7 separate regions of the Homo sapiens genome follow, and regions 2, 3, 4, 5, 6 and 7 are each linked to region 1. Evidence: promoter capture Hi-C in 16 types of primary human blood cells and fetal thymus (Javierre and others, 2016). All regions are on one chromosome and are shown on one strand. Each heading gives the region's core, a stretch centred on a gene start or on the middle of the fragment in contact. The rest is flanking DNA. Distances are from core to core; before and after follow the strand shown. Region 1 holds the start of TNFSF8 (TNF superfamily member 8). Region 2 overlaps WHRN (whirlin). Region 3 overlaps WHRN (whirlin). Region 4 overlaps WHRN (whirlin). Region 5 has its middle 11 kb from the start of WHRN. Region 6 has its middle 9.7 kb from the start of ATP6V1G1. Region 7 overlaps TMEM268 (transmembrane protein 268).

Evidence for each region. The method cuts DNA at HindIII sites, captures the fragments that hold promoters and counts their contacts. A CHiCAGO score of 5 or more calls a contact.
Region 2: a contact is called between a fragment that was not itself captured here and the fragment with the promoter of TNFSF8 in region 1, in 12 of 17 cell types (naive B cells, total B cells, endothelial precursors and 9 more). The highest score is 10.2, in naive B cells.
Region 3: a contact is called between a fragment that was not itself captured here and the fragment with the promoter of TNFSF8 in region 1, in 1 of 17 cell types (naive B cells). The highest score is 5.1, in naive B cells.
Region 4: a fragment that was not itself captured here is called in contact with the fragment with the promoter of TNFSF8 in region 1 in 11 of 17 cell types (monocytes, naive CD8 T cells, fetal thymus and 8 more); the score reaches 7.2 in monocytes.
Region 5: a fragment that was not itself captured here is called in contact with the fragment with the promoter of TNFSF8 in region 1 in 4 of 17 cell types (fetal thymus, naive B cells, total B cells and 1 more); the score reaches 7.7 in fetal thymus.
Region 6: a fragment that was not itself captured here is called in contact with the fragment with the promoter of TNFSF8 in region 1 in 2 of 17 cell types (total B cells and activated CD4 T cells); the score reaches 6.0 in total B cells.
Region 7: a fragment that was not itself captured here is called in contact with the fragment with the promoter of TNFSF8 in region 1 in 8 of 17 cell types (naive B cells, activated CD4 T cells, non-activated CD4 T cells and 5 more); the score reaches 9.6 in naive B cells.

What each region holds. Positions count from the first base shown.
Region 1 is chr9:114,928,762-114,932,239 of GRCh38, forward strand. It overlaps TNFSF8 (TNF superfamily member 8), which reads right to left and starts at 1,830. Exons shown (of 4, transcript NM_001244.4): 1 at 1,348-1,830. The coding sequence starts at 1,542. RefSeq lists an enhancer at 924-1,483. The HindIII fragment of the contact is 2,687 bases long and covers 652-3,338 here.
Region 2 is chr9:114,430,710-114,434,187 of GRCh38, forward strand. The region is part of intron 3 of WHRN (whirlin); the gene reads right to left. Among named protein-coding and RNA genes, the nearest start is that of AKNA, 44 kb to the left of the region's middle. The HindIII fragment of the contact is 2,686 bases long and covers 278-2,963 here.
Region 3 is chr9:114,470,276-114,473,753 of GRCh38, forward strand. All of the region lies in intron 2 of WHRN (whirlin), which reads right to left. Among named protein-coding and RNA genes, the nearest start is that of WHRN, 33 kb to the right of the region's middle. The HindIII fragment of the contact is 2,018 bases long and covers 611-2,628 here.
Region 4 is chr9:114,487,930-114,491,407 of GRCh38, forward strand. The region is part of intron 1 of WHRN (whirlin); the gene reads right to left. LOC124902254 (a long non-coding RNA gene) reads right to left here. Exons shown (of 2, transcript XR_007061743.1): 2 at 3,046-3,421. Among named protein-coding and RNA genes, the nearest start is that of WHRN, 16 kb to the right of the region's middle. RefSeq lists an enhancer at 764-823. The HindIII fragment of the contact is 4,875 bases long and covers 1-3,478 here.
Region 5 is chr9:114,514,267-114,517,744 of GRCh38, forward strand. No RefSeq gene overlaps it. Among named protein-coding and RNA genes, the nearest start is that of WHRN, 11 kb to the left of the region's middle. The HindIII fragment of the contact is 580 bases long and covers 1,446-2,025 here.
Region 6 is chr9:114,576,297-114,579,774 of GRCh38, forward strand. No RefSeq gene overlaps it. Among named protein-coding and RNA genes, the nearest start is that of ATP6V1G1, 9.7 kb to the right of the region's middle. The HindIII fragment of the contact is 3,671 bases long and covers 1-3,478 here.
Region 7 is chr9:114,620,806-114,624,283 of GRCh38, forward strand. The region is part of intron 2 of TMEM268 (transmembrane protein 268); the gene reads left to right. Among named protein-coding and RNA genes, the nearest start is that of TMEM268, 11 kb to the left of the region's middle. The HindIII fragment of the contact is 3,669 bases long and covers 1-3,478 here.

The sequences.
Region 1 (3,478 bases), core at 580-3,079:
ACTATCTAAATCAAATATTTGCAACTCCTTCTTTTCACTTTTGTAGAGATATGAGCTTCAAAGCTTCCATTTAATTTCAAAGCTTGATGACACTTGAGAAATAGATATCAAAGCCTTTTAAAGCCTAGTTCTTTCCAGCAATTGATAAGCTATAGAGTACTTGGCCTAAGAAAACTGAAGAAAAACCAGAATAAATTCAGCAGGATTATAATACCACGAAAAGTAGGCACTATGAAGTAAGAAACAGAAATATTCTCACTTTGGCAGGTCATGTGGGTGGGTGCAGCTCTTAAATTACCCATTAACAACTTCATCAAAAAATTCATGAGCAATATATGCTATTACTACAGCATTTTCTATATAATATATACTGGTAGATTCTCTGTAAACACCAATTTTCTAAAATATGAAGAAGCTTCCTCTTTCTCCTCCTCTTCTGTTTTCAGAAACAAATCTTACCATTTACTTCAAAGTAAATCTCCGAAGACAGTCTGACCCTGTACAGTGTGTACCCAACGATTGCTTAGTATTGTGAGGAACATCAGAGAGAACAGGTGCTAAAAACCTTTCAACTTTCTGCTTCTATGTGCTGTTTCTTTTTTTTTTTTTTTTGTGACGCCCTAACTTCTTCAAAGTTGTGGCTTAAGAGGAAGCTTTCGATTTGTCTTGCTGGCTTTAACACCAAAATGTCCAAAGCTCTAAGAAGCCATGGTCTTCTCTTTCGCCTCCTTTCCTTCTAGACCTTGGCCTCTGAAACTTAGCTCCTTGTATAAAACAAAAGCAAAAACAAAACTCTTGGCAATGGGTGAGGCCTCAGAAACCTCCAGGACACTCAGACTTAGGATATAGAACCTCAGAATCCAGTCTGAAGTCCTTGAAGACATGATAACAACTTGTGCAAATGTGTTATCAGGTTTCTCTATTGCTTCCTTCCTTGATATGGGTCTCTGGCTCATTAAGATTTAAATCTTAACTTTAAAAGGCCAATAGCTCCCCTCCACTGTTTTGCTCAGACAGATCTGCAAAGTTTTAAGATGATGGTCTAACAATATTTTTCTCAACAAGCCAAATTATTTTAGAGAGTTAAGTTCCTCTTTCTTTTCTCCCTTTCTCATATATATATATATATATAATATATACTGTATAATATAATATATATTATGTAACATAAGTGTATTACGTTATACAGTATATACTATAGTATATATATATATATAGAGAGAGAGAGTTTATTTATTTAATTTTATTTTGTGCTCTTAACCAACAAACGAATATCATTTGTTCCCAGGGCTCTTTCTCTCGGGAAAACAACAAGAAAAGGAAAGGGAGGAAGAGGAGTCCACTTACCGTCCTCTGAACGACCAACACCATAATAGTGGCCACCGTGAAGACAAGGCACAGAGCCAGAGTGGCTGTGGTCAAATAGAAATAGCTGCGGCTCGTGGTCCCCAGGTGGCTGGCCACGGAGCCCGCCGGCACATGCATGGCTGTGTCTCCAGGAGGGGCCATTCCGTTGAGTGCTTGCTGCAGCCCTGGGTCCATTCTTTATATAGTCTTCCCCACATCACACCTTATCTCTCTTCATCTGATTCAGTTCTGGGCCCATCTCTGTTCCAAGAAGGATTCTCCCCCTGAATCCTGAATCATGTGACTTGGAAAAAAACCTTCACCTGCTGCCTGGTGGAGAAACTCTTCTCTGGGGGCGTGAGGCGAGAGGCGGCAGCAAGGGTGGGGGAGAGGTTCATTTTTCATTGCCAGGGATTAAGTTGTGTGCAGAGAAACTAGCTACAGAGAAGGTGGCTGATGTCAGAGGGCGCGTAGGAAAATGACGGTTCCCCGACTGTGTGTGTGTATGTGTGTGTGTGTGTGTGTGTGTGTGCATGCGTGCGCACACACAAAGCAACTTCTGTTTCGTTTAGACTCTGCCACAAAACGCCTTCCTGTTCAAGAAGCTGCACCTTCTTTCAGCGAGGCCTGTGGCTCAGAAGACCTCCCCAGATAATGAGTCCTTGCTGGGTCTCAGGGAGGCCGGATCCCTCGGACTGCAGTGTAATAACTCCAAAGGGTTCGGTTTGATAGGCTACTGCTGAAAAAGGGACATGCTGCAGGTTCCCTGGGGGAAAAAGGGCACACAAATGGAGATATTTCTCCAAAGGGGGACTGGCTCATGGCAGTATGAAATTTGGGGTTCAAAGATACTGTCAGAAAGCAGGAATCTGGAAATATCAATCTTTTGAACAAACACTCCTGCAGAAGTTTTGGGATCTGTTAAACTGGCAGATGAACCTGGACCTGCCGTAAAACTCATGAAGAGGGGAAGGAATTGGCAGTGAGATGGTGTGGTGTGGAATATGGGGGCTGTGTGTGTTCTGCGTGGTGTACTATGTAGTGTGTGTGTATTTGTGGTATGGGGGTATGTGTAGGTGTTGTGTGTTCTCTATGGTATATGTATGCAGTGTGTGTGTGGTGTGCATTTGTGATCTGCAATGCATGCCGAGTGTGGTGCGTATGTAAGTGTTGTGTGTGGTGTGTATGTATGTGTTGTGTGTGGTGTGTTGTGTCTTGTGTATGTATGTGTTGTGTGTGTATGTGACTACTATAATTGAACCTCTACTGTCTCAGGCACAGCGCTAGGAGTTACATGTGGCTTCATTCCACTTCCACCTCCACCCTCCGAGGCAGGCAATGTTTATTTTTTACAGATGGGAAAACTGAGGCTCAGGGAGGATGAAAACTATCTCAACCTAAGTCGCAAGTGTCGATCACTGAAAGAACTTGGGTGCACTTTGCAGCCTGCCTGGCTGAAAGCTCGTGCTAAGTCATTCAATCTTCACTGCACCTGAAAGCTAAAACCTGAAGTGTGGTCTCAGCCCTTTCCCTTCTTAGCCTTGGGCCATCATACAAGTCTTTATGGCTTTCTCTGTTCCCAATCTGCATTACAGTCATCAGGAAGACCAAGCGAGATGATGTCAGAGTACTCCATGAATAAAAATAGATTTGGGGATGGTGTTGGACAATTCCTGTTAAACATCCCAAGCTGTCTACTGGGCTAAGTCTGGAATTTAGATACAATAGACAGATTACCTGGGGGACAGAGTCAGATCACATCTGTGGTTACTAATGATCTCCATTTCAAAATACCGTTTAAAATGTTAATCACTGCATAGCTGCTGCCTCCAGATGTGGGCCTTTGAAAGCTCCATTTGGTATCACCGTGGAAGAAGCTCATTCTGCATAGCACCTCCTTTCCTTTCTGCTCACTTTTTGTCTGCAGCGCATCACTTTGAGCCAGCAGAGATCCCAGATGCCCCTAAGGAAACGTCCTGTGTCTAAAGCCAAGCTTGGATTATTACCACTGCTGTTCTTGCATAGAACCAAAACTTCTGAGCATCTCCCAAATTAGATCAGGCTTTAGGATTTGGTCTGGATATTTCCTCCCAGTGAGTCTGTAAAAGCATAGATCCTGGAGACGAAAGAG
Region 2 (3,478 bases), core at 371-2,870, 500 kb before region 1:
GCAGCATAGATTCCTGTGCAATCTGCCTGGGGAACGGCTGTGAAATGGGAGTCACACTTGGGAAACCCTGACTTACTGGGGACGTGTAAGCCCATCTTCCCAATCTCTTTTCAATCCTCTCCTGTCTCTTCTTCCTCCAGAGCCTGTGTTCAAACCAAAGTGCTAGGTAGGACTGGCTTCAGGGTCTCCACAGGGCCCTCCGCAGCATGTGAGTTGGTTTTGAGTGGCTCCCATTTTTCTGTGTCCAGCTCTCTCCCTTTTCCTCTACTTGTTGGAAAGCTTCCCCAGGTCTAGGAGCCCTGTCAGAAGAGCTGTCTACACGATCACTGTGATGTAGAGTCCACAAACCACTTTCAACCAAGTCTGGTGTCTTCTCTGCTGCTAGTGTCCTAGTGTCACCCCGTGTGGCCAGTGGAGTGTGGAGTCCCATCCCTACATTGCAGCCTCTAGTTTTAAAGCCAGGCAACCGTGACATAGTAGCTGAGTGGCCCCGCACAGCTCTCAAGTACAACCTGAGTCTCAGTTTTGTCATCTATAAGATGGGCATGATACTACCACTAGTTCCCAGGTAGCTGTGAGAATCAAATGGAACCACCCTGCACAGAGCCTGAGACACATCAGGCTTTCCATGGCTTCTCATGTGCTTCTCTTCCAGATACAGGAGACAGGTTCAGAGATGTTGAGGGACTTGCTCAAGGTCACTGGTCGTACTGGAAGTAAACAAATGAACCAGCCTTTGAGCCTAATCTTCTCATCTTCTTCCTACCAGCCTATGCCACCTTCACCCCAGCACAGCACTGGCATGCGGGAGATGCTTAGGAAATAGTGAATGGATGGGGGGACCCGGCCTTCCTCCTCTCTTGTTCTCACTTCTGTTTGTTTCCCCTTTCCCGTCAGTTGGTGTGAGTGAATTTGGAGGCAGCATGTTTAAAGATCTTACTCTCACTCTTTCCCAAAGAAAACTAAGAGCTCTGTTTGTTTGTTCATTGCAATGTGGCTTTTTCCTACCCACTGAAACCAACTCAGAGTTAGACGGCACAGGAAAATAAAGCAGAAAATAGAGGCAAAGATGCTGTATCCATCGGGGCCTTCCAAGGCGTCTCTTATAGATGCAGAATCCAAGGCTCAGAAAGGACAGGAACATGTCTAGGGCCACAGAGCAAGGCAACAGCAAAGCCCAGACCCACAGCTAACCGTGGAAACACTCATATCCCTCCACCAGAGCTCACTGGGACAGGACGTGCTGGAGATAGGAGAGACAGGTGCCAAGTGTGATCGAGTGTCTAATATTGCTCAGCTTGCTTGCAGGGCACTGATGGGGAGGACAAGGAAAGATAAACGAATAAAGGCAGCTTTATTTTATTTGTCACCATGGGAATCCTATTTGTCACCACTGATGGAGGAGTGGAGGGTGGACCATGGAATGCCCTTCATTTTAAGGCAGAGGAAAGACTCCTCCATCATCCACAGCCCACTGAGTGACTGGCTCATGTTCAGACACTTTGAGAAGAGCACGGCGGGGCTTCAATAAGGGCAGGATACCGATTTCCCTGAAATTGGCCAACCACCAGTAAGCAGAGAATTCAATTCCCTTAGGTCTGGGGCAGGCGCAGGAGCCCCAGGAGGAGAGGGGACCCTCGTAACAGCGGAAACACTCAGTGGACCTTGCTGGGTTAACGGAGCCCTCTTACTCTCCAAGAGACCTGAGGAAAATAATTTCATTGTTCTAAGCCTTCCTTCCCAAAATGGGAACAAGACCACTAACAGCTAGTGTGTTGTGCAAAGTACACCAGTGGCCATCTGGTGTGTGTTTCTGAGCACAGACCCAGGAGTCTCTGACTAATTCTACACTCTGTCACTTACTTGCTGTATGACCTTGGGTAATTGACTTCACTTCTCTGTGCCTGTTACCTCCTCTGGAAAATAGAGATCATATCAGTACCTGGTTGACAAATGAGTTAATACATTCCCCAGTGTATCACCAACACTTAAAACAGGGTCTGGCACATAGTAGGTGCTCAATAAATATTTACTGAATGAACAAGTATAAAGCACATAAACAAGTAGCTAACATACAGTAACTGCATGGGTCTCCATGGGGCCATAAATGCAATAAATGCATTTTTGAAAGCCATGCTTATCCCTGAATTCACCTGTTGATCACTCACCAACCAAATCTAGCAATTCTACCTCCAGGGTGTCTCTCAGCGCCACCCTCTACCTTTCCACCTACCTTCCCCAGGGCCCTGCCTCTGGCTTCCACTGACCTACACACATTGACCACACCCATGAAACTCATATTTTAATCCCATTTTACAGATGAGGAAGCCGAGGACGGGAAGTAGAGTCATTAAGAGCTGGGATCTGGCCTTCATTCTACCAGCCAGCAAGGCCCCTGCACGAACCAATACCACACTCTCCTTTAAGAAAAGCCAGCCTGCCCTTCCTCTACTTCTTACCCCTCCCAGCCCTGGGCTTTAGGCCATGCACTCAGTAGGTGCTGTATTCGTGCCCGATGAAGGGAACTGGCAGGAAGAACCTGTGGCGGAATGGCAGTAGCTTCGAGCTCCCTCGCCAGAAGTTGTTAGGAGAGAAGGCTGCCAACAACCTGATCCCGAGGCTGAGCTGGGAGACGGGAATCCATCCTCTCAGGCCGCGCGTGCACCTGTACCAGCCACGCTGGGAAGGGCCCGAAAGAAGCCGATTTCAGAGTTGCCTTCAGCACCCTCCCAAGCCTGTGTTAAAATGGATCTTGCGGCTTCAAGGGAGGTCCCTGTTGGCTACAGCATTATCACAAGGAAAATTCAAATTCTATTAAAGAGTTTTATTGCAATTATGAATCTTTAATAGTTTTCCATGTCAGGTGTAAAACTTTAATGGGCTGTTTTTTTTTCTTTCATTACAAGTAAGCAATACAGTTTTAATGAGACATTAGTTTTTCCCAACAGTTCAAAAGTCAGTAAAGCTTGTCCATATTTTGAAAAAGAAAATAAAAAGATGCAGGTAATTGCTAAGACAGTTCCTGGAGCAAGCTCAGGGTATGGGCTGGGTCTGGGTGAGCTCTTCACCCAACCCTCTCTGGTTTAGAGCTCTCACAAGGCAGAACCTAACCAGAAATGCTGTGGATGGACCCGGCAAGGCTAATGCACACTGACTCCCAATATGGTCTATGCTTCCTTCCGGTTCTCTCTTCTGACATTGGCAGATCCGTTGTTAGTACCTGCTTACTCTATTCACCACACAGGAAGCCTCAATGAAGGCCTGCTCTAACCCAGCCATCAATCAAAACTGAGGCCAGAAAGGGGAAAGAACTTGCCCAAGGTCGTACTCTGAGTCAAGGTCAAACCTGAGTTCTTCCCAAAGGAAAATCTGGCTTCCAAAGTAAACAGAGAAATTACAGAGGTCAAACACAGAAAGAATAACAATTACCAACCCCAAGTGCCTTGCTTAGGCCAGCTACCTTGTACAGTTTAGCTCT
Region 3 (3,478 bases), core at 370-2,869, 460 kb before region 1:
GTGGGGAGGCAGCCAGGGACAGAAGAGGGAAGATGCCATTCCAGGAGCAACAGCATGTGCTAAGCCCACACACAGGACAGCGTGCAGCCCCGAAGAGTCACCACACGGGTCCTGTATGGCCAGAGCGTGGCAGGAGAGTGGGGGAAATGGCTGAGATTCACCTCCCTGGTGAGGGTGCCATGAGCCAGGCTAAGAGGCTGGGCTATGAGCAGGACAGTGACAGGCTCCAAAGTGGACTGCAGGAAGACTCCTGGAAACGGGAAGCAGGAGAGGGGTGACTTTGTAGAGATCCCCCATGAGAAGTGGTGGTCTTACGATGGTGGTGATGTAGGAGGAAGGTGGGGTTCAGATCAGGGACAGAACAGAGAGGCTGGCTGAGGACACAGTAGGCAGCTCCTGCCTTGATCCCCATTCCTGCCACGCCTGGCAGAGCCCCCACTCCATGCTGCACCTTAAGGCCTTGGAACAAGCCAGGCCCGGCCTGGGGTCTACACACCCAGGATCTAGCCCAGCTCCTTGGGTGACCTGCAGTCAGTCCCCCGCCCCACCCCACCCCGGGGCCCTTCCAGCTCCAGGACATGAAGATCCCAGCAGGGAGAGAGCCAAGAGAAGCTTGGGCATCTTTGCAGTCAAGCCCAGGAACACGCAGATGGCAGCCCATGTCTGCAGCAGCCCACTCTGAATACTAAGGATGAAAACAAACCTCCCCACCTCCCCGCCACCTCCCCATAAATTCTTTACATCAGAATAAAATGAGTCTTTATCACAGAACTGTAATAACAGTTCTATCAAGCACAGGGTAATCTGCCTCTATCACTTGCTGAAAATTCAACCACCATTTGGCATGAATCGGAATTCATCTATGGGAAAGCAAATGACACTGTGAGAAGCAGCCGGGCCCAGTGAAAATAACACCACTACTGCTAATAATATTAATAGAATAATAACTCAGGCAATTGGTCACCAAATGTACTGTTTCCTATGTCCCAGGCACCGTACTCAGCCCTTTATATGCATTACCTCATTGAATCCTCACTCCTCCTCTATGGTTTTGTTGTTATCCCCACTTTCCAGATGAGGAAACTGAGGCTCAACTCTCACTGAGGGATGAAATGATGGGGCTAAGATTCACATACCCAGCCACTTGGCTTGCCTGCAGTGCCTGGGCATTTAACCAATGCACCACACTGCCTCTCACCGGCCTGAGTTCAAGTCTTGGTTCTGCCCCTCACTCTTGGGCACCCTTGGGAAAAGCCCTGTTGCTTCTCGGATCTTCAGTTGCCCAGTCTATAAAAAGAATTGTGCAACCTGCCGGGGGCCAGCACTGCCTGTGGCCAAGCCAGCAGCCATCTCCCTTCCTGCCTTGCCACGGAGCCTCGACTAGGTCCAAGAGGCAGCCGGAGCAGCTCCAGGAGATGACACCAGCCTAGGTTATCCATTCCCTTATACCAGGAACTGGAATGCATGTAGGTAATTCTGGGCCAGTTTTGGCCAAGAGGCATGGTGGGGGATGTCTGCTAGGGGATTCTGGGTAAGATTCCCCACTCTGAAAAGACAGGAACACAGGAAGAGAAGGGCCTCCTGCTCCCTTCACCCACTCTGCTTTGGGCACGGTTGTGAGAGGCTGTGATGGCAGGTGCAGTGGCTGCCATCTTGCAGCTGTGAAGCAATGAGCCCAAGGCAAGAGCCAACAACAGGAAGGAGAGACTCACTCCCTAGCAAACCAGAGCTCGGGCTGCCCAGCCCTACACCTCTGAAGAGAACAGCGAACACCTGAATGTGTGTGCTCCTAAAATACAGGCTTTCTGTGATCCACAGCCAAAAGCACCCCTAACTGATAGCGCCATCCAGGGCTGTTGTGAGGATGAGGATGCGTGGGCTCCCAACTTCCACCCTTGCTCCTGCCATCTACCCTCCATCCAGTAGCCTGGACAGTCCGGCTGGAACCTCATATGCACCTGGTCCCTCCTCTGCTCAAAGCTCTGCCATGGCAGCCATCTCACTCAGAGGAAAGTCCCCAGACTCGGCCTGGTTGCCCATGCCTGCTGCCTCACTCCTCTGTAATCTCACAGGTCTTGCTGCTGCTCCTCAAGAGGCCCTGCTCACCTGCCTGAGGCCTCCAGCCACCTGGAGCACTCTGCCCAGATAGGACGGATCCGTGTATGATCATTTCCTTGTCAGCTTCAGATCCTTTCTTTTGTCACCTTCTTAGTGAGGCCGTCCCTGCCCCTTCTCTAACACTGCCCCACGCACACACCACCCTCCCATGCCCTTTCCTTGCTTGGTTCTCCCTCATTTTACAATAGACTGTATATTATTTCTTTTCATGCCCGTTACGGTCCCCCCACAACACACTAGAGCGTCAGCCCTTGACAGTGGCTAAGGTGTTGTCTGTTCTTTGTCTGTTCACTGCTGTATCCCCAGTACACACAGCAGGCCCATTATAGGTACTTGGTACATATTTTGGGGGAAAATACCAGTACCTAGTCAGCATTTAGTAACTGACGGTTGTTGCTGGAATTCATTACTATGTCCAGGCACTGTGCTCTGTGCTTATAAGCCTTGATTATTAATCCTCGAAACAGCCTCACATGGCTGGCATGACCATCCTCCAATCATGGATGCGGAAGCTTAAGTGACTCATCCAAGGTTAAGTGGCTTGCCCAAGGTCACACAGTCACGAAGTTTCAAAAACAAGCTTCAAACCCAGTGCTGCTGAGCCCAAAGCCCCTGCTCCTTGTGTTCCAGGCTTGTAGCAGCCTGAGCCGAAGGGCAGGTCCCATCTTGTTTCTGTGGCTGCTGGAGACACATGAGCTTGGCGGAGTGGCTGCTTCTGCTGCAGCAGGGTCTAACTGCTCACTGCAGAGTAAGGGGCCGTGGGACAGGGACACTGTAGTGGAATAAGACTTAGGAAGTTCTCAATAAAGCTCATGGGCAAATGACCGGGGAGGGGTGAAAGGGGCATCTGAGTTCTACAAATAGCTGTTCCTGCCCGCATCATTCCTCCGAGCAGATTCCAGATGCTGACCAAGATGACTGGTGCTGTGTGCAGGCAGGCTCTGCTGTCTCTCCTGGATGGAGCCACCACTGTGGCTGTGCGAGGGCCGGACCCAAAGAGCCAGAGCCAGGGGACACTGAAGGGACCAGGCATAAGCCTGAGATATGAGCCTGACCTGTCCCAGCCACTCTCTAGCTGTATGACCTGGGATAATTCATGCAGGCTCTCCAGGCCTCCATTTTCATCTCTGGAAAATCGGAATAATGACACTATCTGTAAGTATTTTATAGGACTTGCCTGCCAGTCAAATGACTCTACAAAACCACAGTGAAATCTGAAAACTGCAGTGAAGAGATAAGCCCCTGGGAAGCTGTGCTTCTATCACTCTGGATACTGGTTCATTGCCACATTAACAACCCCATCTCCAATAAATATGGGTGATAGAAGTGTAAGTGTGGTATGTGGAAGCAATAGAAGCAG
Region 4 (3,478 bases), core at 619-3,118, 440 kb before region 1:
AAAAGCTCCCAGTTTAGGCAGATCTTGGCTCTATCTTCCAATCATCTGGGGGCTAAATCTTGGGCCCTAAAGCACTGCAAAGCACCAAAATGAAAACGGTAACCTGGTGGTGTCTTAGGGTGCGAACTCCCTCAAAAGTGTTTTCCAGTGGAAGGTACAGTTGCTAGAAAGCCATTCTCAAACAGTGTTCAACCCCTTCCTAGCTATGAGACTTCAGACAAGTTACTTAACTTCTCTGGCCTCAGTGTTCCCACCTATTAAAAGGGGCCATAACGCCTATGCTCATGGAGCTGTCATGTAAACTGAATGAGGGCCAATGAGAAAATGTGCATAAAGCATCTTGCACTGGGCAGGGCGCACAGGAGGTGCTTGGCAAATAGTGGGTAGCATTAGTAACAGCAAAATTACAGCGATGATGCCACATTTTATTCTTCCCACTGCACAGATGAGGAAAGCGATTCTAGGTGGTGAAGTGTCTATGCACGGTCACAGAAGATAAAAGGCAGGGCTTTTATACCTCTCTCCTCGCTTCTCTCCATTGCCCTCTCACCAGCAGTTTAAGGGGATTCACACCCCCTTAAACACCAGGCCAATCCTACACCTTGGCCCAAGACAGACAGGGGAGGGTTTTTAAAAAGGACATGGGCCTCACAGGATGTAAACAAAAGAAAGTCCCTTAGGGTCTTGAACCCCGAGCAGGTGCTGTGTCCAGCCACATGGACTGGAAAGTCCCTTCCCATTTAGCCCTGCTTTGAGGGAGGACAGAAATTGGTGATGCGGACTCTGCCCCAGTAGCTTATTTTAATGTCATGAGAAAGTAAAACCCTAATTAGCACTCTGTCTTCCAAGCTCCTTCCATCTGTACCATTTTCATCTGTGTTAATTACCTCTTACAGGGACCACTAACTGCAACAGCTTCCCAGCCTCCTCTCTCAGCCCAGTCACTGCAGAGCAACCAGAGAATCCTTATAAAACATACGTGGACTCTGACCCTTCCCTGCCCCAAACTCTCCCCATTGCTTCTGCTATAAAACTCCCCACAGTGCATCTTGGGCCTGTGCGCCTGGTCCTGATGCCTGGCCAGCCTCATCTCCTGCCCTGCCACCTGAGCTGTCTTATAGGATCAAGTACTCCAAGCTCTTCTCCACTTCAGGCCTTTGCACGTGATGCTCTGTCCCTGAAAGTACATATCTCAACATACTTACTTATGCAAATGATTATTTTATTATCTACACTCTTCTCAGTTGACCAGGAAGGCAAGAAATTGTTGTGGCTTGATCAGAGATGTATCAATAAATAGAAAACATAGGAGATGGTAAGAGATTCCACATAAAGAGACAGTGAAGAAATGAAAGGATGCTTTCTTCTTGGAATTGAACACCAATAAGGAAATTTACCTCTCCTGAAGTTACCAATGATTTCTCTAGTAGAATGGAAATAATCCATTAATTTCTCCTTTTGCCTTGGTTGCTAGGGGGCTCAGAATTCAATTTCAATATAAATACTGTTCCTATCAAAGGCACCACACACACATACACACACACACACACGCACACACACGTACACACACACACGCACACACGCGTGCACACACACACACACACACACTTTCCAAGATCACTTCTGATTCCTCTACCTTTTTAATGAAGTGCTTTTCAGGTTAACTCACTCCATTACTTTTGACTTAAGTAAGAATCTTAATTATAAATGTATTAGTAAATAAGCAAATGAGATATGTAAAGTTTAAAGCGGGGGTTAAACTACACCATTCACATGGTAGATGCTCAATAAAACCACTGCTGAGTGAATAAACACTAAAATCTAAGCACATTTCTAGAATTAGATACCTTTTCTATGCAGCTGGAGATGGAGATCCTTTTTACAGATGCTTGGGCAATCATTCTGCTTTCTCCTCCTACCTCTCTCCCTCCACTCTATAGAAAGGCTCTGCAGCTACTGAGTTTGGTCTAAGAACACATGTCATTTGTAAACATTCTCTTAAACAAAAGTCCAAAAATTGTTATTCTTATATTATTTTGGAATGATGACATAACTGGGCAATGGTGTGGTAAGAATTCTGTTTCTCAAAGAACTGTGGCTTCACAGTAGCATCCTCAACATCTGTGTGCTCATCAGGGAGCCAGGACCCGCGACACAGCCATGCCACGACACGGTCCATCTGCTCCGGCTCTGTGCGGCCACCTCGCTTCCTTGCGCTGCTGCATCCCAGGGTAAATCGAGTGGACCACAGAGCATTGGTGTGAACTCATCCAAGACCCCATCCCTGAAATGCAGCCCAACATAAGGATCATTAAACGCAATGACAACATACGTCAAAAAGAAATGCAAGGAAGCAGGTGATTCGACAATTGAGGAAATGTGAATACACAAGGATAAAGGCCAGGGGAGATGGCAGAGAAATGTATGATGTCCAGTTAGAAGGATGGGAACGTGGGTGTCTTCTCCCCTTTTCTGGTTTTCTTTAGTGCTATTTAGATATGCCTTTAATTTGGGCCTCACGAAGTAGGTTTTTAAAAACCAACGGCTGGATAGGAGAGTATTTAAGGAAAGAAGAACATTTAAAGAAAAAGTTTTTTTTAAAAAAGATATAAAAACCAACTGTTCATTCCTTCCACCCTCTTTTAAGAGTTTGACCTTCTCTGAGGGTTCAATGTAAGGATGCAGAAGGAAACCTTTGCTTCCATGCTGCGAATGCCGGGATCTCAGAGGCTGGAAGAAAGACCTGACATTTTAAAGTCCCTGCTCTCCACTGTCATTGCTTCTAAATGTTTGGGTGAGTTAAGGCTGTGTGAAAAGAAAAAAACATAAACCTTCAAAGAGAGGGATAAAATCCTGACCTTGGGAATAATGCTACAAGAAATTTGCAACAAAGTGACAGATAGGCTGTCCACCCCTTTGCAAAACAACTCATAAGGACAGAACAGATTCCAGAAAGATATTGATTCCTCTTTAATGCAATTCTTCAATTATCCTCAAAGCCTGGCTTTTAGTCTGTTATAATTTAAGTAAATTGCTTTATAAATGTTCTTTTAAGTTTTGTCTGTTTATTCTTTTTTTTTCTTTAAGGAAGAACAAGATTCTCAGAGTCATAAATATATTCACTCAAGATGAGCCCCAATGGGTTTGCAATGGCACATTTTGTTGTCTGGGATCGATGTCCGAAGCACAGAGATCCATCAGGAATATCTGTTTATATCCATATCGTTTTCTCATTCCATGAATAGATACGTTGATGGGATTTAGTCTCCTCCCAGACTCTTGACATCCCTGTGCCTCATCACTTTTTGACAATTCTCAGTTGAAAAGGTGATGGGCTTCCAATTTAATTCAAGCTCAGATGAAAAATCTGAATTCAAGGTGGATTAATCAGCCATTTCCTAAAAACCTACTCGGCCGATGTCTGAAAAATAATGATAGATTTGATGACACTGAAATGCAAAACTCTTGTGATAAATGG
Region 5 (3,478 bases), core at 486-2,985, 410 kb before region 1:
GAAATTTACAATCATGGTGGACAGCAAAGGGGCAGCAGGCACATCTTACATGGCTGGAGCAGGAGGGAGAGAGAGGGGGAAGTTGCTACACATTTTTTTTTTTTTTTTGAGATGGAGTCTCACTCTGTTGCCCAGGCTGGAGTGCAGTGGCGTGATCTTGGCTCACTGCAACCTCCTTCTCCTGGGTTCAAGCAATTCTCCTGCCTCAGCTTCGTGAGTAGCTGGGACTACAGGCACACGCCGCCATGCCCGGCTAATTTTTTTTGTATTTCAGTAGAGACAGGGTTTCACCGTGTTGTCCAGGCTGGTCATGAACTTCTGAGCTCAGGCAATCTGCCCGCCTTGGCCTCCCAAAGTGCTGGGATTACAGGCATGAGCCACCGCACCTGGCCAGTGCTACACACTTTTTAACACCCAGATCTCATGAGAACTCTATCACCAGAACAGCACCAAAGAGATAGTACTAAACCATCTGCGAAGGATCCACCCGGATGATCCAATCACCTCCCACCAGGCCCCACCTCTAACATTGGGGATTCCAATTGAACATGAAGTTTGGGTGGGGACACAGATCCAAACCATATCAGGCTGCCGTAACAAAATACCATGGACTGGGTGACTTAAACAACAGACATTTATTTTCTCACAAATCTAGAATCTTGAAGTCCAAGATCAAGGTGTCAACAGGGTTGGTTTCTTCTGAGCCCTCTCTCCTTGGTTTGTAGACAGCCTTCTCCCTGTGTCTTCACATGGTCTTTTGCCTGTTTATGTGCCCATGTCTGTGTCCAAATTTTCTCTTCTTATAAGTCATATTGGATTAAGGCTCACCCTAAAACATCATAACTACCTCTTTAAAGGCCTTATCTCCAAATATAGTTACATTCTGAGGTCCTCAGGATTAGGACTTCCACATATGAATATGAGGTAAGGGAGGACATAATTCAGCCCATAATAGTATGTATATTCCCAACTAATGTTAGATGCTTCCTCCTCCAGCTCCAATTGGTGAAAATCTTTATGTCCCAATTCCAGGCACGACTTCTCAGGCTCTCCTATCCTAACTATTCTATGAGAACTAGTTTGTGTCATGAAAAACCTTCCATAAGGACGTGCATTTGTTCCTTGCTCTGTGCATGACAAAAAACAAAAAAACAAAAACAGCAACAACAGCCCTGGTGCTATCCTAACACTGTTGGAATGTGCCTAACGAGTCACTTGAATAACCTTTCTTTAATTTAATCCAATGGCAGTAATTTTCTGGAACACACCGTTACAAGGGAGCAGTATGATCTCCAGGGCTTTTTGTTGTCTAATTAAAAGGCACTGTAGCAAGAAGGAGTTTGCAGTTGCCTTTCAGAATCTGATTTTGGAGTTGGAGAAAATGAGGATTTTTTACTGGACTGTGAGGAGGTTAGGAAGGGTGGCCGGCCCAGGGAGACTGTGGAAGCTTTTGCTGGTCATGTGGCAAAGGCTTTGTGCCATTGTTTTTGCTTGTCAGAAAAAGCCAAGGTCACTCCACTGTCTGGGAGTCCTCTTTCCTTTTAGGTGATGGACAACGAAAGCCTGACCATGGGCTAAGAGCCTCACTGGCTGAGGAATTTCATGGGGCAGGGGTGGCTGCTGATCCATTTACAAAATTAACTCATTCATCAGCACTGTCTTACTGAACATTTATTAGGTGCTAATGGTGGGCATAAAGGTAAAAATAATTGACATTTATAAATATCTATAGATTACAGGTTCTTAATGTGGGGATCATGACTTCAGAGCACCTGTGACGTCTCAGAAATTGTGCACCGTATCTGTGCTTGTGTGCGTATCAATGTTTCATTTTTCTAAATTCTGTGGTCCATGACCAAAAACATTGAGACCTCCTTATTCTAAATAATACTTGCTTCAATTTACTGAGAGCTTACTTTATCAGATACATTATGTTCCTTTCTTCATTTAAGACTCATGTCAATTCTCCAAGAATTCCTGTATCATCCCCATTCAACAGATGAGGAAACTGAGGCTGGGAGGCTAAGCTTTTAAAAGGCAAAGCTTGGGTTTCATCCAGTCATACAACAAACTTTTATTGAATATCCCTGCTCTAGAGGAAGAGTTAGACAACTGCAATACAATGAGGTGGGTGCTCCAATAGAGGAAGGTAGATGGGGCACAGAGGGAGCACCTGACCCAATGTGGAGGTTGGAAGTCAGGAAAGCTTCCTGGAGGAGTGAATGCCTGCACTGAGTCTTAAGGAGAAGGCAGGTAAAATAGTTGGGAAGGGGACTCCGGAAGTGAAGACTAATTTGTGTCTGGGAGTGTGCCAGTTCAAGAAGGGAGAGAAACACAGAAACACAGATCTGACCAAGGTCTTCTTTTTTTTTTTTTTTTTTTTTTTTTTCAGAAACCTCATTCAACCAGTAAACCTCAGAAATGATATTCAGCCTCACTTGTGATCAGAGAGTTGCAAGTTAAAACAACATTGAGATACCATTTCGCACATACCAGATTGGCAAAATCAAAATAACTGACATTACCAAGTATTGGCAAGGTTGTGGTGCAAAAGGAATGTGCTTACAGGGCTGGTGGGAGTATAAATTGGCAGGACCACTGTGGAGAGCTGCTTGGCAGCATCTAGTAGGCTTGAAAAAATGCCAACTCTAGACCTGGTGGCTCCGTATCTTGGTATATTTCCTGGAGGAAACTCTTACACATTTGTACCAGACATGTGTCCGTTGGTTTCTGCTATGTAACAAACCATCCCAAAATGCACTGTCTAACCATCACCGGTTTAGCTCACACTTCTGTGAGTCAGCTGAGCTTTTTCATGGGTCTGCGGTCAGTTGGAGGCTCAGCTGGTAGCTGAATGATCTAGGAAGCCCTTACTCACTTGCCTGTCAGTTCGCTGGCAATTGGCTGGGGCTACGGGAGCAATTGGTCTACACATCCCTTGTCATCCAATTGATGTCACAATTAACACCTTTGCCTGGGAGATAGGAGATGCCTCGAATAAATGGGAGCTGAAATCACACTTTCTGCAGGATGAACTGATAACATGAATTAGAAAAACGCAGCCTTCAATTGCTTTTCTTTTCCTTGTAACAGTTTTATTGGAGTATTGTTCAAGTACCATACAATTTACTCACTTAAAGTGTATAGTTATATGGTTTTTGATATATTCCCAGTTGTGCAATCAATTCTAGAACATTTTCATCACCCCCAAAAGAAGCCCCATACCCTCTAGCCATCATCCCCCATAATCAACCCCCAGCCCTAAAATGCCACTTACTTACTGTGTCTAGAGATTTGCTTATTCTGGACATTTCATACAAATGGAGTGATTCAATATGTAGCCTTTTGTGACTGGCTTGTTTTTTTTGTTTTGTTTTGTTTTGTTTTTGTTTCTGTTTCTGTTTGTTTGTTTTGAGATGGAGTCTTGCTTTGTAGCCCAGGCTGGAGTGCAGTGGCATAATCTCAGCTCACTGTAAAC
Region 6 (3,478 bases), core at 509-3,008, 350 kb before region 1:
GGCAGGGTTCTATTTCTCATAAAGGGTTGCAGCCTGCAAGTTGGGCCATTCTTTTTTTTTCTTTTTGTGACGGAGTTTCGTGCTTGTTGCCCAGGCTGGAGTGCAGTGGGGCAATGGGGCGATCTCAGCTCACTGCAACCTGTGCCTCCCAGGTTCAAGCGATTCTCCTGCCTCAGCCTCCCCAGTAGCTGGGATTACAGGCACCCGCCACCACGCCTGGCTAATTTTTGTATTTTTAGTAGAGACGAAGTTTCACCATGTTGGCCAGGCTGGTCTCGAACTCCTAACCTCAGGTGATCCACAAGGTGGCCATTCTGACAGGTTGGGAAGCATAGCCTGTGACAGAAGATGGGGAACAGGAGCTTCAAGAATGGGAAGTGTAGAGGCCGGTGCAGTGGCTCACGCCTGTAATCCCAGCACTTTGGGAGGCTGAGGCGGGTGGATCACGGGGTCAAGAGATCGAGACCCTCCTGGCCAACATGGTGAAACGCTGTCTCTATTAAAAAATACAAAAATTAGCTGGGCATAGTGGTGCATGCCTGTAGTCCCAGCTACTCAAGAGGCTGAGGCAGGAGAATCGCTTGAATCCAGGAGGCAGAGGTTGCAGTGAGCTGAGATCATACCATTGCATGCCAGCCTGGTGACAGACCGTGACTCTGTCTTCAAAAAAAAAAAGAATGGGAAGTGTAAAACAGAAATTTATGCTGAGCTGGTTGGCTGAGTATACATACGCAGTAAGCTATAGAAGGACTCATGAATATTTATGAAACAAGAAACATGCACATGTACAATTGAACTTCATGCCTCTTCATGGGTTGCATGTTCCAAAAACTGCGACATTAGCATGATCTGAGGGAGGTGTTTTCAGCCCTCTGATGTCAAAAGGTGAAGCAGAGGACACAGAGCTCACTGTCCCTCACTGCAGCCTCTATACCCTGCCCAGAACTGCTCTATGGTTGGTGACCTCTTAACAGGAAGGAGTGCTGGTCAGTTGCTGTGTGGAAACTGCAAAAGAGACGGGGAGTCTGGTCACGGCCTCAGGTGATTGACTAGAGGTGATAAAGGAATGAATTCTTTGTTTCTTGTTTCCTTTTTTTCTGTATTAATGTTATTTTTAAAATTTTTCTGTAGAGACAGGATCTCACTATGTTGCCCAGGCTGGTCATGAACTCCTGAGCTCAAGCAATCCTCCCAGCTAAGCCTCCCAAAGTGCTGAGATTACAGGTGTGAGCCACCACGCCTCATCTGTTTCTTGTTTTCTAGAGCTGCTCTCTGCTTATTCCTTAGGAAAGAATTCTGGCTGAGGTTAGTAAGGAAGGGGCCTCCTGAGGTGTGTCTGACCTCCTGTCCCAACATGACTGGGAGCTCAGCATTTAAAGATTTTCTGGGATCCGGTTGGCCAAGAGGGGGCCCATTCAGTTGGCTGGGAGGTTTAGGATTTTATTTTTATTTCTCATGATCAAGTTACTTTGTTAAAAAACCCTTGGATATCAAAATTCTGTTTTCTAGAGTAGCATCAACAGAAATATAATGCATACCACATGAGTAGTAATAAATTTTCCTGTTGGGCACATTTTTAAAAGTAAAGAGAAAAAGTAAAATAGATTTTTTTTGTTTTAACAATGTTTTATTTTTAATTGTAGTAAAATATAATATAAAAGTTATCATCCTGACCATTTTTAAGTGTACAGTTCAGTAACATTAACTGCATTCATATAGTTGTGGGATTAAACTCCAGAACATTTTCATCTTACAGAACAGAAACTGTCTACATATTAAACAACCCCTGATTCCTTTCTTCCCTACTCCCCCATCACCCGCCTTGCTCCTGGCAACCACCATTCTACTTTCTGTCTCTATAAGTTTGACAATGCTAGGAACCTCTTATAAATGGATTAATACAGTATTTGTCCTTTTGTGACTGGCTCATTTCACTTAGCAGAATGTTCTATTGTATGCATATATGTATATATATGTAGCTATCGAGCGCTTGAAATATAATAAATATTATTATATACATATATTGTGTTTAAATGTTAAATATATTATTTACATAATATAAATATAATATTAAACAATATCTGTAATAATTTTTTTTTTTTTGAGACAGAGTCCTGCTCTGTCACCCAGGCTGGAGTGCAGTGGCACCATCTCAGCTCACTGTAACCTCCGCCTCCCGGGTTCAAGTGATTCTCTTGCCTCAGCCTCCTGAGTAGCTAGGATTACAGGCGCACACCACCATGCCCGGCTAATTTTTTTATATTTTCAGTAGAGATGGGGTTTTGCCATGTTGGCCAGGCTGGTCTCAAATGCCTGACCTCAGGTGATCCGCCTGCTTTGGCCTCCCAAAGTGCTGGGTTTACAGGCATGAGTCACTGCACCCAACCTAAGAGTTTAAATATCTTAAATTTAAATATCTTTAAATATCCTAAATAAATTAAACACTTCATTCCATAAAATAGAATAAGTGTTCCAATGAGCCGAGCAGAGTCTCCTGACCTCGTGATCCACCCACCTCGGACTTCCAAAGTGCTGGGATTACAGGTGTGAGCCACCGCGCCTGGCGGATTGGTCATTTCAAAGTTCTCCTCTGCAAGGCAGGCACAAGGAAACAGAACTATAGAGAAATAAGTGATTGTTTTTTAAATTTCCTTTTCCTGTTTTTTTTTTAATTTAAAAACAATTTTTAGACTTCTACTTTTTATTTTATTTTTTTAGAGAGACAGAGTTTTGCTCTGTTGCTCAGGCTAGAGTGCAAGACTGGAGGCAAGACTGGGCTAAAATCCAGCCCATACTGTGACCATTTGGCCCAGAAGGTGCATCTTTTTAAATTTTTTTTTTTTTGAGACGGAGTCTTGCTCTGTCGCCCAGGCTGGAGGCCAGTGGCGCGATCTCGGCTCACTGCAAGCTCCGCCTACCAGGTTCACGCCATTCTCCTGCCTCAGCCTCCCGAGTAGCTGGGACTACAGGTGCCCGCCACCACGTCTGGCTAATTTTTTCTATTTTTAGTAGAGATGGGATTTCACTGTGTTAGCTAGGATGGTCTCGATCTCCTGACCTCGTGATCCATTTTAATTTTTTAATTTTAAAAAATTTTTGAGACAGAATCTTGCTCTGTCACCCAGGCTGGGGCACAGTGGCATTATTTCCGCTCACCGCAACCTCCGCCTCCCAGATTGAAGTGATTCTCGTGCCTCAGCCTCCCAAGTAGCTGGGATTGCAGGTGTGCACCACCACACCTGGCTAATTTTTGTATTTTTAGTAGAGATGTGTTTTGCCATGTTGGCCAGGCTGGTCTCAAATTCCTGAGCTCAAGCGATCCTCTTGCCTCGTCCTCCCAAAGTGCTGGGATTGCAAGTGTGAGCCACCACACCCAGCCACAATTACCTCTTGAAGCCACTTGCTACATAGTCTCTAGATCAACTGATGCCAAGTAGTCACCAAATGCCATATGCTGGATGCCATATCCCATACCCTA
Region 7 (3,478 bases), core at 440-2,939, 310 kb before region 1:
TTAAGTTTCCTCCTCAACTTTACCATGTTAGTGAGAGGCCGAGCTCCAATTTGAACTCCAAAGCTATCTAGCTTGTGTTTTCACCACTCACCACCTCGCCTCCTTGTCCCCCACCACTTCCAAAAAAAAACAGGAGAGAGAGAAAAAAAGCAAAATAAATTTCTTTTTGGCAGGAGGTGGAATTTAGAATTCTGTGGAACCCTTGAGATCAGAGATGATATCCCAGGGTATGAAAAAAGAACCTTTTCCTCTCTGGGTGCAGTGGCTCAGGCCTGTAATCCCAGCACTTTGGGAGGCTGACATGGAAGCATTCCTTGAGCCCAGGAATTTGAGACCAGGCTGGGCAACATAGTGACCTCATCTCTACAAAATAAAAAATTAAAAAAAAAATTAGCTGAGTGTGGTGGTGCATGCCTATGATCCCAGTTACTTGGGAGGCTGACGTGGGAGGATTGCTTGAGCCTTGGGAGGTGGAGGTTGCAGTGAGCCATGTTAGTGTCACTGCACTCCAGCCTGGGTGACAGAGTGAGATGCTGTCTCAAAAAAAAAAAAAAGAAAAAGAACCTTTTCCTATCTTATTAATTTGTTTATACACCAAACGTGTATTTAATGTGCCTCCTGTTTGTATCAGATCAGGGGATTCAGTGATGAACAAACCAGTGTGAGAGTGTATAGTCTGGTGGAAAAGATAGATTTTATTCAAGTAATTTCATGCATATGTAATCAAATAATTGCATACATAGGTATTTAGCTTGGGCGAGTATTAAGGAGAAGAGCGTCAGTTATGGTAGGTTTAGCAGAGGATTTGATCAGTTAGGAGTTTAGAGTGTCAAGGAGGCCTCTCTGGGGAAAGTGAATCATGAGCTGGGATACAAATGATGCATGGGCTGTAACTGGGTGAAGCTAGGTAGACGTGTCCTAGAGAGAGGAACAGTATATGCAAAGGCCCTGGGGTGGGGGAGAACATCATGTTCAGGGACTGAAGGAGGCGGGTGTGGTGAGACATAGAACGAGGCTGAGGGGCTCAAGCTGAGTCTGGCAGGAGGCTAGTTTTCCTAAGGGCTGGAAGAACGTGGTAACAAGGTTGGCTTTTGCAAAGCAACAGGAAGCGATTGAAAGTTTTCTCAAGGCATTGGTGTCATCTGATCTGCACCCTGGCCACTGTGTGGAAGATGCATTGTAGAAGTAAAGGTAGGTTTGCAGCAGAAGCCACTTAGGAGGCTACTGCAGAGGGCCAAGGGAGAGGTGAGGATGCCAGGAGGGCACAGAGTGGACAGATGTTTTGTTTGCCTAGTTGGCAGGGCTTGGTGATACATTGGGGGAGCAGGGAGAGAGAGGGTTTGGATAGGCCAGGAATTTCCTGGAAAGTGGAGTGAGTCATTTGGCTTTGAAGACTCAAGTACTGTTCAGAGCTAGACTGGGGTGACAGGAGTTTTGGATCAGCAGACAACACACTTATGCTTTAATCTCTTCTGTCCTGCCTCATTGTCTAAGCAGCCGCCATAGAGAATATGCCAAAATATCCAGTCCTCAGCAGTGCATGGCTGAAACCTGGGATCCTAGAATCCCAGGGCTGGAATCTCTCCCACCCCCCAGACCTCCTGGCTGCTGACCAGTGGCTCACAGGGCCTTGTACTGTGGTGCAAGGAGATCTCGATCCTTTTGTCCAGTTTCTCTACTTGGAACTGCAGGCAGGTAGGTTTGGCTTTGTGCTGCTGCCATTCCTCCCTGGTCTTGAGGGGATTTCAGTCCAGACTTTTCTCTCCAGCTGGTCTCATGGTCTGGCTTCATCCTACCCTTGGAGGGCGGGGGCTTTGGTAGCAGTTGTGAGCAGCCTGGGTTGATGCGTGTTTTTTGAGGGAATAAACACGTATTTTATGCTTTTGAAATGCGGAGTGTGTTGCAGCCATACGTAGGAGGGATTACAGTAAATCAGTGTATTAGTTTTCTATTGCTGCTATAACAAGTTACCACTAACATACTGGCTTAAAACCACGGATTTGGGCCAGGTGCAGTGGCTCATGCCTGTAATCCCAGTACTTTGGGAGGCCGAGGCGGGCAGATAACATGAAGCTGGGAGTTTGAGACCAGCCTGGCCAACATGGCGAAACTGTGTCTCTACTGAAATACAAAAATTAGCCAGGCATGGTGGTGCATGCCTGTAATCCCAGCTACTTGAAAGGCTGAGGCACAAGAATCACTTGAACCTGGGAGGTGGAGATTGTAGTAAGCTGAGATCGTGCCACTGCACTCCAGCCTGAGTGACAGAGAGAGACTCTGTCTCCAAAAAACAACAACAACAACAACAACAACAACAAGCCAAACCAACCACAGATTTGTTATTTATTTATTTATTTATTTTGAGATGGAGTTTCATTCTTGTTGCCCAGGCTGGAGTGTAATGGCGTGATCTCGGTTCACTGCAACCTCCACCTCCCAGGTTCAAGCAATTCTGCCTCAGCCTCCCCAGTAGCTGGGATTACAGGCACGTGCCACCACGCCCGGCTAATTTTTGTTTTTAGTAGAGACAGGGTTTCACCATGTTGGCCAGGCTGGTCTCGAACTCCTGACCTCAGGCGATCCATCTGCCTCGGCCTCCTAAAGTGCTGGGATTATAGGTGTGAGCCATTGCACCCAGCTGGATTTGTTATTTCATAGTTCTGTAAGTTAGATGTCTGACACTGATCTCACTGAGCCGAAATCCCCTTGGTGGCAGGACTGTTTTTCTTTCTGGAGGCTCTGGGGAGAATCCATTTCCTTTCCTTGTCCAGCCCCTTGGGGCCACCCACATTCCCTGGCTCATGGCCCTCTCCCTCCATGGTCAAAGCGATCGATGCCACATCCCTCCTTGCCTTTCATCCATAGTCAAATCTCCCTCTGACTCTACTTCTGTCCCGCTTTTCCACGTTTAAGGTTCCTTGTGATTTCATGGGGCCCACCCGGATGATTCAGGATAGTCTCCCTATTAAAGGCCAGCTAATGAGCCCCCTTACTTCCACCCTTTGCCATGGAAGGCAGTATATTTGCAGGCTCTGGGGATTAGGGTGTGGACATCTTTGGGGCCATTGTTCTGCCTACTGTGACCAGTTATTTCTTACTTAGACTCTCTGAGCCTACTGGGAATTTAACTTATTCAGCTGAGCATTCTTTGCAATGCTTAAATAAAGGTCCACTGCATCACCCCCCTCAATGTAGTTTTTCAGTCTCTGTTTAAATATTCCTTGTGTTGGGGAACATTTTTTTGTGGGGACAAAAAATGCCTATTTTTTATGGGGACAGCTTTTGCTCTTGGAAAATTCTTCCTTATATGGTCTCACATTGTGGTCCTAGGAGCCTCCTCCCTCTGGCCTTAATTCTGCCTCCTGGGGGCTTCCCAGTCAAATCCAGTCCTTCTCTCAAGAGGATTTGAGGATGGCCACCGTGTCCCTCCTTGTTGCGAGGAGGTTCTCATGGCCAGAGGTGTGATGCCGCCAGGCTT